4 separate regions of the Homo sapiens genome follow, and all the other regions are linked to region 3. Evidence: promoter capture Hi-C in human tissues and cell types (Jung and others, 2019). All regions are on one chromosome and are shown on one strand. The core of a region is centred on a gene start or on the middle of the fragment in contact, and the rest is flanking DNA. Distances in the headings are between cores, read along the strand shown. Region 1 holds the start of DCAF10 (DDB1 and CUL4 associated factor 10). Region 2 overlaps SHB (SH2 domain containing adaptor protein B). Region 3 holds the start of POLR1E (RNA polymerase I subunit E). Region 4 has its middle 23 kb from the start of SLC25A51.

Evidence for each region. The method cuts DNA at HindIII sites, captures the fragments that hold promoters and counts their contacts. A contact is called where the count stands out against the background at its distance.
Region 1: the fragment with the promoter of DCAF10 here is called in contact with the fragment with the promoter of POLR1E in region 3 in 1 of the 25 tissues and cell types used here (mesenchymal stem cells).
Region 2: a contact is called between a fragment that was not itself captured here and the fragment with the promoter of POLR1E in region 3, in 1 of the 25 tissues and cell types used here (lymphoblastoid cells).
Region 4: a contact is called between a fragment that was not itself captured here and the fragment with the promoter of POLR1E in region 3, in 1 of the 25 tissues and cell types used here (dorsolateral prefrontal cortex).

The regions. Positions count from the first base shown.
Region 1 is chr9:37,798,106-37,802,137 of GRCh38, reverse strand. DCAF10 (DDB1 and CUL4 associated factor 10) reads right to left here and starts at 1,341. Exons shown (of 7, transcript NM_024345.5): 1 at 733-1,341. The coding sequence starts at 1,271. LOC105376037 (a long non-coding RNA gene) reads left to right here and starts at 1,247. Exons shown (of 3, transcript XR_929599.3): 1 at 1,247-1,471; 2 at 3,410-3,507. RefSeq lists enhancers at 210-259, 1,211-1,812 and silencers at 570-629, 850-1,369. The HindIII fragment of the contact is 16,578 bases long and covers 1-4,032 here.
Region 2 is chr9:37,926,566-37,930,304 of GRCh38, reverse strand. All of the region lies in intron 5 of SHB (SH2 domain containing adaptor protein B), which reads left to right. Among named protein-coding and RNA genes, the nearest start is that of SLC25A51, 24 kb to the right of the region's middle. The HindIII fragment of the contact is 4,083 bases long and covers 1-3,739 here.
Region 3 is chr9:37,483,577-37,487,324 of GRCh38, reverse strand. POLR1E (RNA polymerase I subunit E) reads right to left here and starts at 1,377. Exons shown (of 12, transcript NM_022490.4): 1 at 1,202-1,377; 2 at 519-622. The coding sequence starts at 1,277. RefSeq lists a silencer at 1,250-1,579 and an enhancer at 1,321-1,912. The HindIII fragment of the contact is 4,331 bases long and covers 77-3,748 here.
Region 4 is chr9:37,879,097-37,882,775 of GRCh38, reverse strand. It overlaps a transcript of SLC25A51 not described here and the pseudogene PAICSP1. Among named protein-coding and RNA genes, the nearest start is that of SLC25A51, 23 kb to the left of the region's middle. The HindIII fragment of the contact is 3,161 bases long and covers 726-3,679 here.

The DNA.
Region 1 (4,032 bases), core at 92-2,591, 310 kb before region 3:
GGCTTGGTGGGGTAAGAATTACATTAACTATGTCACCTCATGGTGGAACTGTGCACATTTTTTCTTTTGATGGCGGACTTGTGTACTGACAAGACAAAGTTTTAAATAGATACGATTTTGGAAAGTTCCCTTTAAAGCAAAGCCATACAATAAATATTTAATCAGCCAAGAAAAAGGCTGTAGTCTAGCCTGGGGACTTCACAAATGACCCAAATCATGAGAGCCACGTCTCTACAGTGTCTTAGTACTGTATCTTCCTTGAGCAAAGGAACGCACTTGCCCCATCATGGCAAGTTCAGGTACAGAGTGCAAGGAATCTACAGCTTTCCTACCCCGACACAGGTTTAGGTAGGAAAACGCGAGCCTAGGATGATGGGGAGAAAGCGGGCATTTATTCAAAATGTATTTACTGAGCACCTACTGTGTACCAGAAAGCCCTAGTTGTGGGCTGGCTCTGACAGGTCCGCTGTGTAGCTTCGGGCATTTCTCCTTCACAGAGCCCAAGTCCTGAAGGCGAGCAAGTGGGGCCCCGCCTGCCTGCCTCAAAAAGCTGGGCTGGGGATTCCAAGGGCGAGAATGCGCTTCAGAAAGTGCCAGGAGGCACGAAGGCCAGCGGCCCCAAACGGCCTCGCTAACCTCGGCCCGGGCGCGGGGAGCGAGCCCAGGACGGCCGTCCGCTGGCAGCAGAGCCGGGCGGAGGCGGGCGCCCGCCCTCCGAGGGGCCGCGCTTACCCGTCGGGCGAGTACTCGAGGTTGAAGACGGCGCCGTGGGTGCGGGTGCTGAGGTACACCGAGTCCGCGGGGTGGATGGAACCGTAGAGGCTAGTCATGGTGCGAAAATTGTCCCGCGCCGGGTCCACGAACAGCCCGCGGCCCAGGCTGCGCTCTTTCAGCCACCCGAACAGCCTAGCGCCAGGGCCGCCCAGGCCCGCGCCGAGGCCGTGTCGGCCCCGGCTCTTGGCCCTGCAGTCTGGCCCGGGCCGCCGGCACGGAGGGGAGGGAGGTGACGGCTCTCCCGGGGCGGAGGCAGTTGAGGACTCCGGAGCTCCAGGCAGCCCTAGCTCTCCGGAGCGCGGGGCCGGGGACAGCGATGGGGCGCCGGGGCGGCGAGGGCTTCGGGCGGGTGGAGGGGGATGGGTCGCATCAGCCCCGGGATGTAGTGGCGAGGGCGGCCCGGTGGCTGCTGCCTGCCCCTCGTGGGGCGTCGGCTCCTCAGCCCCGGCTCCGGCCGATCCGTCCCCTCCAGGGCTATGGGGCCCAAAGGGAAACATGATCAACGCCCCCGCCCCCCGCTCCGGGCCACTGCCCCGCCGGCCGACACCTCAGTGCCCCTGTTCAGCTGCCACTTCCGGCGTGCAGCGGCCTAACCCCACCGGCTGGAAACCCGCGCCGCCCCTCGGCCACCGTCCGCCGGGGACCGGGAAAGCTGAGACACCGCCGGGTTTGGGGCGCCGCAGTCCCGGGAACGGAGGTAGGGAGCGAGTAGTTACCTGTGTGAGCGACTGAGCATCTGGGCACCTGATCTGGGTGGCAGAGTCGGTCTGTAGTTGTCAGTGACCGGTGGCCGCGTGCCTGGGGATGAGTGGCCTGACCAGTCAGTCCTGTGAGGCTGAGTATGTACTGGTGTCTCCACTTTACACTGGGATCAGCGAGGGATTAAGAATTAGTGCATTACGTGCAGGCCACACACAATAGGTGACATGCCACTCTTTTTTTTTTTTTTTTTTTCCGAGATGGAGTCTCGCGCTGTCGCCCAGGCTGGAGTGCAGTGGCGCGATCTCGGCTCACTGCAACCTCCGTCTCCCGGGTTCAAGCAATTCTCTGCCCCAGCCTCCCGAGCAGCTGGGATTACAGGCGCCCACCACCACGCCCGGCTAATTTTTTGTATTTTTTAGTAGAGATAGGGTTTCACCATCTTGGCCTGGCTGGTCTTGAACCTCGTGATCCACCCGCCTCGGCCTCCCGAAGTGCTGGGATTACAGGCATGAGCCACCGCGCCTGGCCAGCATGCCCAACTCTTAAAGGCACAACAAGTTCAGGGTGACCACAGGCAGCTTCTTCCAAAACCTATTTGTCACAAGGCAAAGGAGAGACTGAGAGGAAACAGGTTTGGATGTGCTACCCAAGGAATGGCTGAGATAGCCAGTCTGTGTATCTGGGCTTAAATGAAAGATGGCAAATAGGTGATAGTTACTTTTCTGGGTCAACTTGACTGGGCTAACAGATGCCCAGATAGCCTGGAAAACCATTATTTCTGTGTGTGCCTGTGAGGGTGTTTCCAGGACAGATTAGCATTTGAATCAATAGAAGATCTGCCCTCACCATTGTGGACAGGCATCATCCTATTCATTAAAGACTGAAAAGGAACAAAAAGGCAGAAGGGTGATTTAACTTTCTCTTAAGTTGGTACATCCATCTCCTGCCCTTAGACATCAAAACTCGGTTCTGCGGGCTTTGGACTTGGGGACTCATCGTCAGTTTTCAGGCCTTCAGTCTTGGACCGGGAGTTATACCATTAGCTCCTCTGATTCTCACACCTTCAGACTCAGACTGAATTACACCACCAGATTTCCTGGTTCTCCAGCTTGCAGACTGCAGATCATGGGACTCCTCTACAATGATATGAACCAATTCCCATATTAAATGTTCTCTTATATCTATATCTCCTATTGGTTCTACTTCTCTGGAGACCCCCTGGATGGGTCCAATCTACTGTAGCAGCCTACTTGCCTGGCATTCACACTCTTCATGTGTATGCCAGCACGTATATTCTACTGAACCCATCCTAGAAGTCCTAGGCTGTCGAATTTTGTAGCTGTTACTTAGCTTTCCTTGCCTACTAGCCGGGGTAGGACAACTATTTGAGTAACCAGGCTATAGATTAGCCACTGGTCCATGAGGCTGCCAGACCAAAAGTCTTTGCCCATACAGACTCATGCTCTTGGGAATTTGAATTGGGAAATCAGAAGTGAGGCAGTTGGCCATGATGGTTGGGATTGAAAAGTCATAAGGCAGAGTGAGGCCGCTGGAGTCCTGAGCAAACCAAAGGAGTAAGAGAAATCATGAGAAAGCAGCAGCCATGAGAGAACAGACTTGGGATAGACGGTGAGAAAGAAAGTTGATGGTAGGAGGAGATACAGATACATAAAAAGAGACAGACTCAGAACAGGTTAGACTTGTTCTTGGCAGAGTCCCCCTAGGGTCTTCCTGCAGAGTCCCTTGAGGTACCAGAATGATGGCTGCTCAATTTCAGTTTCAGTTTCCTGTGGGATGATCACTTGATTTCACAATACCTGAACCAGGACTTATGCACTGACAAAAAGAATCAAGGGCCAGACACAGTGGCTCACACCTGTAATCTCAGTGCTTTGGGAGGCCAAGGTAGGAGGATCTTTTTTTTTTTTTTCAGGGTCTCACTCTGTTGACCAGGATGGAGTACAGTAATACAGTCATGGCTCACTGCAGCCTCAACCTCCCAAGCTCAAGCAGCAGGAAGATCTTTTGAGGGTAAGGAGTTTGAGACCAGCCTGGGCAACATCATGAAACTCTGTCTCTCTATGAAAAATAACAAAATCATTCCGGTGTGGTGATGCATGCTTGTAGTCCTAGCTGCTCGGAAGGCTGAGCCAGGAGGATCCCTTGAGCCCAGGAGTTCAAGGTTACAGTGAGCTGTGATCACCCTGCACTTCAGCCTGTTGCACTTCAGCCTGAGCAACAGAGTGAGACCCCATCTCAAAAATTAAAAAAAAGAATTGGCACTTTGGGAGGCCGAGGCGGGTGGATCATGAGGTCAGGAGATCGAGACCATCCTGGCTAACAAGGTGAAACCCCGTCTCTACTAAAAATACAAAAAATTAGCCGGGCGCGGTGGCGGGCGCCTGTAGTCCCAGCTACTCTGGAGGCTGAGGCAGGAGAATGGCGTGAACCCGGGAAGCGGAGCTTGCAGTGAGCCGAGATTGCGCCACTGCAGTCCGCAGTCCGGCCTGGGCGACAGAGCGAGACTCCGTCTCAAAAAAAAAAAAAAAAAAAAAA
Region 2 (3,739 bases), core at 462-2,961, 440 kb before region 3:
GAGCAAACCTCTGCCCTTCTCTGAGCCTCAGTGTCATCTGTAAAATGATGACAGGGAACCAAATGATCTCAGAGTATCTGGTTGGTGTCTTGTCTCCCTCAGAAATGTTGCATTTAGAGCAGTGCACACAGTAGACACTTAATAAATGCCATTGACCATCTATGACCAGTTTCCTGTTTAGTTCGTTTTCTGTTTTGTTTTTTGAGACAGGGTCTCACTCTGTCGCCCAGGCTGGACTGCATTGGTGTGAACACAACTCACTACAGCCTCAGCCTGCCAGGCTCAAGCAATCCTCCCACCTCAGCCTCCCAAGTAGCCGGGACTACAAGCGTGTGCCACCATGCCCGGCTAATTTTTAAATTTTCTACAGAGATGAGGTCTCACGATGTTGCCCAGGCTGGTCTCACAAACTCCTAGGCTCAAGAAATTCTCCCGCATTGGCCTTCCAAAGTGCTGGGAGTGCATGAGTCACCACGCCCAGCTTCCTTTTCTCTTTTCATGTGGATCCTGTGTGCAACAGTGTGCCTTAGAGACTGTGGTGAAAGAACACTTGATGTTTCAGGAAATCGATCTCAGGGCAGTAAACGCCTTGCCCCGTGTCATCCGGCCACAGAGCTGGGCCAGAACCCAGGTATCCCACCCCAGCCAGGCAGGCTGCCCAACTGGAGGAGACGCTCCTGCAGCCACATCCATGGCTTCTGGGCTGCCAATGCAGCCGTGAATGACAGAGCAGACGTATGGGAAACCTAGCTCAGTGCTCAGCCCAGACAGCACAGAGCCAGCCAGGTGCACCAGACACACCAGACAGGCGGCCACTGGTGCAGTGGCTCCTGCCCAGCAGATGAGAACAAGACCCACGCCAGGACCCTGAGTCCTGCACTGGCGTCAGTATTTTCTGAAAGGCACTGTTCTTCATTTAAAAATTTAAAAATGCATTAAGCTGGAATCTAGTGCCAGCCCCCTGTTTCACGTCATGCTTATCCGAGGGGCCTGCCAAAGAGTGCAGATTTGTACCCAGGTGACCAGGCTCCAACGACATCCTGCATACTCGGCGGCACCTCCGCACCTGGCGAGCCTTGCTTCCCTGCTGTCCAGACCTCAGACTACCCTTGTGGGTGAACAGTGAAAGCTCTACTTCCCAGATGAGGACCTGAAGCTCAGACCAGGCACAGTTCAGGGCAGGGACTCAGATACAGGTCTGGGTGGCCCTGAGCCTGGGCTGCGTACAGCACCATCCTCAGGCACCCCAAGGCCCACCCCCCTCTCCAGCCCTGCCTGGGTCAACCCCAGGGCGCTGGCCCCCTTTGGGCTATAAAAGCCATTGTGCGCTCCAAGTCCTCCCCTCGGCAGCTGGGGCTTCCCCCGAGGCTGCCTTGGCCCAGCCTCTGCATGGTCCTGCTCTGGAGTCTCCTCAGATGTGGTACATCTCCCACCATGTGCTGCTCAGGTGGGACTAGGGGGTCCTGTCCTTGGAAACAGCCTGGAGCCCTCTGGAACCAAGCCATTTGGCAGATTCCGCTCTGTGTCTTACACCTTTACATAAGGGGCCAGGCGAGCCGGGATTCGTCAGACGTTCACACTTCATGTGGAGGTTCTCATCTGCCCCTCACCACAGCAGCAAGGGTGGACTCTGGTTATTCCCATGTTGTGGATGCAGAATTTGAGGCACTGGCCGTCTAGCGAGTGGTGTGGCTTTAGCCTAGGCACTGTGGGAAGCTGGGCTACATTATTCTTTGTTGTGGGGGCTGTGCTGTGCGTCGTAGGGTATTTAGCAGCGTCCCTGGCCTCCTCTTACTTAGATGCCAGTAGCACCTATGTACCAAGACATTGCGAGTATTCCCCAGGGAAGAGGGAGTGCAAAATTGCCCCAGGTAGGAGCCACTGCTTTAAGGAGCCTAAGGGCTCAGATAGCCTTGTCCTCAGTAGGAAGAGATCACCCTTGGCCTGGATTCTGTCCATCCTGTTGGCACAGGCATGAGAAGCCTGCTTTTGTCATTTTGCTGTCCCCAAGCCCAGGATCCACTGTGGCCAGTGTACCCACCTGTCTCCCTCCATGAGGGGAGCCATTCTGCCCTGCCTTGTTCCTCCTGCTGTGGTGCTCCCACCCACACTGGCATGTCCGTCACTGACTTGAGAACTCAGCACTGAAGGGATCCCCTCCAGCTTTTCCAGAGGGAGACGCTGAGGCCCAGGGGGAGGGGACTTGCCCAGCCAATGATATCAGTGGGATCAGACTTTGAACTTCCTCCCTTTGGGGAAGCGCCCAGGGCTGAAGAGTGGAGAAAAATAATTTCCGACACACAGGCCTTCATGTTCCTAGAAAAGTCCTCAATTAGAGGTAGAAAAAAAAAAAAGAGAGAAAGAGAAAGAGAGGAAGGAAAGAAAGAAGCCCTAGACCCTGTTTCCCTTTCCTGAAGCTTTGGCAGCATTTCACCATCCCCCTCCGCTTCTGCGTCCAGCCCTCCTTGCAGTTTCCACGTGCACTTGGCTGAGGCTGGTGGGAACCCTGAGGGGGGACTACAAAAGGCATCCAGCGGGATCCACCCACCAAGTGTCATTGCCTTCCCACTTACACACCCCTGGTAATGGGAGGCTTACTCCCTCAGTCTGAGCGCTCATCATTTAAAAACTTCTTGTCTAATAATGTGTTGGTTTTCTCATGAGAAAAATTGCCCAAAATGGGTTCATTTTGACATACCTACTGCTTTGTGTGCTAAAACGAGCCTTATGCCTCTACATGTTCGCCAGGAGAGGCATCTGCCAGCTCTCCTGCCTAGAGATGGCTTTTTGTCATGATTTACTGAAGGCCTTCACCCTGGGCCACCAACTTAGAGCTTGAGAAATGCCCTGGCGTCTCGGGTAGGCTAATCGCTGCTGATGCGTCTATTGAAAGTCTAATTATTTGGTTGTAAATCACGTCATTTTGCTCAGCAGCGTTTACATTGAGACGTTTGTTCACAATAACTTGGTGTGTGTGTCTTTGGCTTGTCACTGTGAAGGCTGCTTTGGAAGCTGTGGGCAGGATGCAGGTGTTGGCCACGTGGCCTCCTAAGCTCCTTTATCCCAGCTGCCTTGACTATTAGAACATCTCAGCTAGAAGGAGCCTCCATGCCCCCTGCCCCACGCCTCAGACAGCTGGAGAAACCAGTCACACAGTGAGATGCACTTACATCCTGGTCCCCTGGCTTGGGAAGCCCTGATAGCCTTGCATCGTGACTGGGCAAGTTGCTTCTCCCTCAGACCCTTAGTCTTCTCATCTGTGCAGTGGGTATCTTGCATATAATGCCAGCCCTCCCAGCTTCCTTGGGAGGCCACAGGTTAGTCCAGTCATGGACCAAGGGAGCATTTAAGGTCTTCTCAGCCATGCCAGAGGTAGGCCAGGCCCTGTGTGAGTGGGATCTGCCTGGGCTCTGGGTGAGTAATTGGACCACAGAGGTGGACTGTTGAAATATTTGCTGTGGAGAAGCCACATCTCTCACAGTGTTGGGGCAGTGTCTGTAAGGAGGTAGCCCAGGTCCAGGCTACAGCTCTCCATGCATTTGGGATTGTTGGCTTTCTGCTAAGATAGCAGGGCCCTCTCTTTGCTGAATGCTGTACTGAAACAGTGGCCTAATTCTCTTCAGAGATCTCTACCGCCTCTTTATCTACCACACATTGAGGGAGAACGGGGTCGTGTGTCTGCCTGGCAGGCGGGCACCCACTCTGGCTCTGTGAAGATTCAATGGACTTGTGTTCAGTC
Region 3 (3,748 bases), core at 128-2,627:
TCTCCTCCCACTGAGCTCACTCTGCCCTGTACTCTTCCCCACGTGGCCTCAGAGCTTTGTGTAAAAGTGTCCCTCACAGCCAGTTCTCATCTCTCTAGAGCAGAGGTTCTCAATCCAGGGAAATCCACTCTGGTGCTACTGGCATCTAATGAGTAGAGACTAGGGATGCTGCCCCCACAGCAAAGAATTATTGGCCCAAAAAGTCAATAGTCCTGAGGTTGAGAAACCCTGCTCTAGAGTATGAACTCTGAGTGGGGCTAGGCCTGATTTGGCTGTTTTCCTAGAAGCTTGCAGCACAGGGATGCAGAGGGGCAGGTTCCATAAATGCTTGTTGAAAGAACAAATGAATGAAAGATGGAGCCTGTCCCCACATCCCAGGCTGCTGGGCATCAGAGTTCTTCAAAGCTCCATTTGCTACTACTCCCCTTTTTCTCCCCTCACTCCCTCCCACATCCACCCACTCCCAGGGGCCTTCTGAGCCCTGCAGAGTGGAGACAGCTGGCAACTGCTTCACTTACCAGGATCCGTTGATTCCTCTTCCTGGGGTTGGTGGAATCTTTGTTCTCATACAAGGTAAAGCGCATGTTGCCTGGACTCTGTAGCTTCCCGTTGGAGAACTGGACTGTAAGAGTGCAGCCCAAGAATGAGATGAGAGCAGAAGGCCACACAATGTACCACACAATGTACGGTGGGACTAGACTGTCACTGGGAGGGAGTGTCAGAATGGGGATGGCAAGGAAGCTCGGGTCCTGACCCAAAGGGAACTGGAGGAGATCCGGGGCCAGCTGAGAAGAGGAGGTAGGGAGGTGGGAGAACCCTGGGGAGGGGCTGTGACAGGAGGGAATGTCTCGCGGAAGGAGGCTGACAGCAGAGGCCTGGTACATACCTAAAGTGACAGAAGGAACCCCTGCCCAGTGAAGAGAGGGAAATGGGGGAGGCGGGAGACCTGGTGGGTGAGGGGGTCAGCAGGGTCCTGGACACAGCTCTGGGGAGCGGGTGAGTGGGATGTCCCAATCTGGCTGGGAGGTAGTGACAGAAAGACGGACAGGGGAGCCCTGACAGAGCCCAGGGGAGTGGTGGAGACTAGAGGGGTCCCGGCCCCGCTGGGGAGAAGCCCAACGGAGGGCGAGAGGACAGCTGAGGTACCGAGACGGAAGGGGAGAGGGTTAGAGGAGCACTGCTCCAGCTCCGCAGTCTTTACCCAGTACAGCTCTCTGGCTCCCGTCGGGCGCCCCACAATACTGCCACCTCGCACTCGGCAACACCTCCGCCGCCATCTCGCCTGTCTGTCCGCCAAGCACAGGAGTTAAGACAGCAGCAGCCACAAGCGCACTTTTAAACACGCGGGAGCCCAGGCCGCGCTGCGGGCCGGAAAAGGCGTGGCCCCGCCGGGCACCGCCCACAGCGCGCGAGCCGCGTGTCCCCGCCCCCCGCGTAGAGAGGCGTGGTCTCCGCCCACAAGGTGCCACACACCCGCTTGACTGGCCGAGGCGCAGCACCTGATTGGCTCAGCGCTCGCGTGCACTCTGGGTTTTGTAGGTCCAGAGCCCGAGGCGCCAAAGGCTTCAGCCTAAGCTTGCTATGAGCCTTCTTCCGGCTCAGCACCTTCTAAAGAGAGTGTCGTCTCTCTCTCCTACCGTGACAAACTCATCTTCCCAAGACCTGAAGGACCAAGTTCAAATTTAGAATTCTCTGACAGGAACTGCTTGAGCCCCAACTAAATGTGGCCGCTGGCGAATAGCCGCCCCTCTCTAGGGCTTCCCACCCACCCACGTGGACATCCAGCTCTAGGTACAAACTTTGTCCACAGTCCGACAAACAGCTCCCCGCCATGGGCTGTGGCGTGCACACCTGTGGCCCAATCAACACTGAGGTGATGGAACAGAAGCCCAGCCAACCCCGGAGCCTTTGGGCAGGAGATTCTGGACTGGAATAGAAGAGGGAGTCCGAGCTGATGGACATGTCCCTTTTTCACTGCGGATTCAACCCTTCTTCTGCACGGGGAGTTTTCAGAGCAGAAAGAAGGCGAAAGCAGGGCCTTTAAGCATGGACGCTGGCCGAGGCCCCCTTTGCCCAAAGATGCGTACTATTGAAGGGCAAGAACTCCGGTTGACTCCCCTCTGTCTTCCAAATCACCTTCTTTCAAGACTCTTTTCCTTCCACACACCCTCAACACCCGCCTCCAACACCCAGGATCCTAGGAATAACCCTAAAGCCTGCATGCCCCTTTGCCTGAGCACTTGTCACGCTTTTCTAATTACCCAATCTCAAACGTAAAGAAACACTGCAAGAAATGTTTTTGCCCTGAACCATTTAGAGTAAGTTGTCAACCTGATACCCTTTCAACCCTGAAGACTATAGTATTTCCTACAGACATTCCCTAAATAACAACACAGCCATCAGAATCAGCAAATTGCCGGGCGCAGTGGTTCACGCCTGCAATCCCAGCACTTTGGGAGGGAGAGGCAGTTCTATCCCTTGATTCCAGGAGTTTGAGACCAGGCTGGGCAACATAACAAGACCCTGTCTCTACAAAAAATAATATTAGCCATGTGTGGTGGCGCACGCGTGTCGTCCCAGCTACTCGGGAGGCTGAGGTGGGAGGATTGCTTGAGCCTAGGAGGCAGAGGCTGCAGTGAGCTGTGATGGTGCCACTGCACTCTAGCCTGGGCGACAAAAAAAAAAAAAAAAATTAAACAGAAAAGAATCAGGAAATTAGCACTGGTACATTACCACCATGTAATCCTCACATCCCATTTAAGTTCACCCATTGTCCCAACGTTTGTTGTTAGTTTGTTTTTTGAGACAGGGTCTCACTCTGTCACCCAGGCTGGAGTGCAGTGTTGCAACCAGGGCTCACTGCAGCCTTGACCTTCCAGGCTCAAGTGATCCTCTCACCACAACCTGGGAATACAAGTGTGTGCCACCACACTCAGTTTTGTTTTGTTTTTTCTTAATTAAAAAAATTTTTTGTAGAGACTAGGTCTCACTGTGTTGCCAGGGCTGGTCTCAGACTCCTGGGCTCAAGTGATCCTCCCACCTTGGCCTCCCAAAGTTCTGGGATTACAGGCGTGAGCCATTGCAGCTGGCCCAATCATGTTTTTATAGCAAAAATGTCCTGTCAAGAATCATGTGTTGCATTTAGCTCTCATAGCCTTTCCTCCCTTAGAAGGCTACCTTGCTTGACCCCACCTCATGATTTTGGATTGAATTGTTCAGGAAAGGAAAAGGGAAGAAGAAGAAAGAAGAAAGAAGGATGAAGAAAGAAGAGCTTAATTGTGTGATTGTCTCACCCATTGATTGTTTCCTCACTAAACTTACTTGGGGTTCACAATAAACACTTTGGAGGTTAATAAACAAATTTATGTTTGTTTTGATCACTGCTTTATCTCCAAATCCTGAACATACTAGACCCTCAATAAATATGGAATGAATTAATGAATGACAGGGCAAAGAATGGGCCTGAATTATCACTAATCTTGGAAGCCTAGCACAGGGACTGGAACTCAAAGATGTTTGGTAATATTGGTTGAAATCAACTAGCATAGGGTTTACACATAACAGACTCTATAAATGTTTTTTGGTTGAATGAAAATATGAACAGTTAAATCAAAGTTAAAGGTGACCAAGATAACAGTGGCTACAATGAGCCAAGTATAGTTCTTAAGAGAAGTATCTTGTGATATAGGAACACATTATATGGCCTTGTTACTCATGATATAGGAACACATTGTATGGCCTTGTTACT
Region 4 (3,679 bases), core at 1,057-3,556, 390 kb before region 3:
CTCATGAGCGCAGGACACTTATGGTCTTGTGTCCTATACTTCATGTGTGATGCCACCAGAAATGTTATGGATTCCGTATTGAACACACTGAGAGTGGTATGAGCCCTCAGGACTGCACCACAGAGTAAACACAACCTTGATATGGTGGCGAATATGTGTGTCTTTCTTGTTTCATTTGTGGTTGGGGACAAAATCGATGTATTTGTCTAAATAGTCGATATTCATCTTAACATGGTTGGTTGTGTAATCACCAGCTATATTGTGAACTGTGCAATAAAACAGAAGCGTTTGTGTATATAATTACCTTTGGATACCTGAAATTCCCAAGCTTGGTTACAATGTAATGCTCAGTATAAGGCTGTGCAAACATGTAAGGGAATAATGGTGGTCGATGGGATATATGAAATGGGATCTAGAGGGCTTCGAGTGAAGCCAATCATGTTGAACGAACACTGGTTCAGTGTAGATGAAGTAGAGTGAGGCGTATGCAGTCATAAAATGAAGGGTGGACAGGAGATTACATTTGAAGAAAGGATAAGCACTCAGACTTGGTCTCTTTTAAATTAAAATATTTCTTTTCTCATGTGCAAATGTATATCAAAGACTTGAACAGGTATTCTCTTGAAATTTGAGGATTTTTAGTTTTTAATGCTGTCTTTGCTTAATATTAAATATGTGTTGCCTATTGGCTCCCAAATTGTGTGGGAGTCTCTAAATGTTTCCTCTTGAAGGTTCATTATTGAAAGTGGTTAAGTGCACAATGCTATTTTTGTTTGATAGTTTGAGTTTTATGACCCTATGAGTTTAAATGAAATCTGTTAAATGTTTCAGAGTTAACACTTTTTTTTTGATAATTTGGAATAAAGTTTGTTTTTTAAGCCCACTCTTTTTGGTCTTCTCTTATGCTTGAGTAGTTGCTTGTTACTGGCACGTTCCTTTTTTGTGGTAGTGATAGATTGATCTGTTAGTCTTTTTATTCAGAAAACATTTAGCACACTACCTTGACTTTTAGCAACTTAACCTGGGGATGTTGCAGGTAAAACATTCCTTTGTCTATCCATCTTATTTCGTCAAGAGGGGTTTCATATAAGTTTTATTTTCCAGGTAGTTTAACTGCAAAGCTTTTTGTTTGTTTGTTTGACAGGGTTTCTATTGCCTGGGCTGGAGTGTAGTGGCATGATCATGGCTCACTATAGCCTTGACTTCCTGGGCTCAAGCGATCCTTCCGCCTCAGCCTCCTGAGTAGCTGGGACTACAGGTACGTGCCACCAAGCCCAGCTAATTTTTGTAGAGATTTTCATCATGTTGCCCAGGCTGGTCTTGAACTCCTGGGCTCGAGCAATCTGCCCACCTTGGCCTCCCAAAAGTCTGGGATTACAGGCGTGAGCTACTGTGCCTGGCCACATTTTATTTCTTAAAGGTCTTCCTCATATTTAATACACTTCTCTACTGAGTTTAAACTTTCTTGGTTTAGCTTATCAGTACTTTCTGTTGTAATAGAGTAGCCTCATGCAATGTTTACTCCCAAGTTACATGGTCTGGATGTTTGTGCTTTTCATTTTTTTTTTTTTTTTATATCTACTTTTGCCTTCAGAGCTGCTCCTTTCTGTTGTAGCTCATTGGTTAGGAGAGTGTGAAGTTTTAGCCACATTGTGAATTTGCATGTTAAGTTTTAGGTTGTTTCCTGGCTTTAGAGATCATTGAGGTTGCCTGATAAGGACAGCAAGGTAAAGGAGCAGTTGCTTCTAAAAGTCCTGTTTTGGATTGAAATCCATCATAAAGAATAAGTGTAATATCCTGAACTTGTACATTTAGATTTGATAAAAAGGGTGTTTAATCATCATCTGATGAAATCTTTTAACCCACCCATAGCAGCCACTGTAGAGTTCTAGACCTCCAGAGTGAGGAGTAGGTGTGACCAGGAACAGCCCTGGGGGATCTCTGCATAGCTACAGAGCACTCCCAATCCCCAAGAGACTGGTTCCCATCTTAAATCTTTTTATTTATTTATTTACTTTTTTATTTAGAGACGGGGTTTCGCTCTTGTGACCAGGCTGGAATGCAATGGCGTGATCTCGGCTCACCGCAACCTCCGACCTCTGGGTTCAAGTGATTCTCCTGCCTCCGCCTCCCAAGTAGCTGGGATTACAGGCATGCGCCACCACGCCTGGCTAATTTTGTATTTTTAGTAGAGATGGGGTTTCTCCATGTTGGTCAGGCTGGTCTCAAACTCCTAACCTCAGGTGATCTGCCCACCTCGGCCTCCCAAAGTGCTGGGATTATAGGCGTGAGCCACCGCGCCGGCTGCCTTAAATCTATTTATCTGACGTTCCCAACTAGGAAATTTTTTGTCCAAATGAGTATATGTGATTTTAAAGTAGAAATCGAAGGTAAAATAGGATTTATCTCAGTTCCTATCTCCCTTCAATCTATTCTTCATATTGTCAATAATTTTTTTTTTTTTTTTTGAGACGTGGTCTCTGTCGCCAGGCTGGAGTGCAGTGGTGAAATCTTGGCTCACTGCACCCTCTGCCTCCTGTGTTCAGGCGACTCTCCTGCCTCAGCCTCCGGAGTAGCTGGGATTGCAGGCATCCGCCATCACACCCGGCTAAATTTCGTATTTTTTCAGTAGAGACAGTTTTGCGCCAGGCTGGTCTCAAACTCCTGACCTTAAGTGATCCACCTGCCTCAGCCTCCCAAAGTGCTGGGATTACAGGCGTGAGCCGCCGTGCCCGGCCATCAGTAATTTTTTAAAATGTCACTTCAATAAATGCTTTTCCTCTGCCATAAAGACCAAACATCTTGCTGTGGCCTACAGGAGACAGGATGATCCAGCCCTTGCCTCCCTTACTCTCATCTCTAGCTAAAACTGCGCTGCTGTCTCTGCACTCCAGCCACTGGCACTTCCTGATTACTTGGGGCACGCTGTACTCATCTTGCTCCCAGCCTCTGCCCATGCAGGTGCCCTCTGCCCTCAGCACTGCCTTTCTCTACTTCATTTATAGACTGCTGTCCTTCAGATCTCGGTTGAAGTGTCACTTCCTTGGGGAAGCTGGCTTACACTCTCAGGACTCGGTTAGGTTCCCCCGTCAGGCTCTTCTATGTCACCATGTTTCTATTTTTCACAGCACTTAACCTGTTTTAATTACGTTGCAAATAGTTTTTGTTTGGGTCTAGAGAAGCATGTATTCACTAGTACATTTTATTTGTGTTCTCTAATTATTTTTTCTGCAGCTAAATTAGAAATTTGTAGTTTTCCCCCTAAAAATGCAATGATGTTTTCTCTGATTTTCTTGTCACCTTTCTTCCAAAAAATCCATGTGTTCAAAGTGCTTGCTTGCAGTTTGCCCCATAATAAATGGTTGTTTAATCCAAATATCTGAGTAGCAAACTGAGCTGATCCTTCTGGAGAAAGTATGGTTGAATAGCCGAGACCACTGAGTAGTCGCAGAGAAGACCACACATCCTGAACTCCTCAGTCTGGTGTGAGGGGAGGACAATAGATAACTGGATGTGTAGTGTTCCCAAACATCACTGATCCCAAACCATTGCTTCTGCCTGCCACTGCCACAAATACAGTACGACTGCCACCCCTTCATACTCAGCTTTAATCCTCAGCATTTCTTCTGGTCCTTTATGTGCAGATGTTACTCAAAGTCTACATGGAATGCCAAAATTT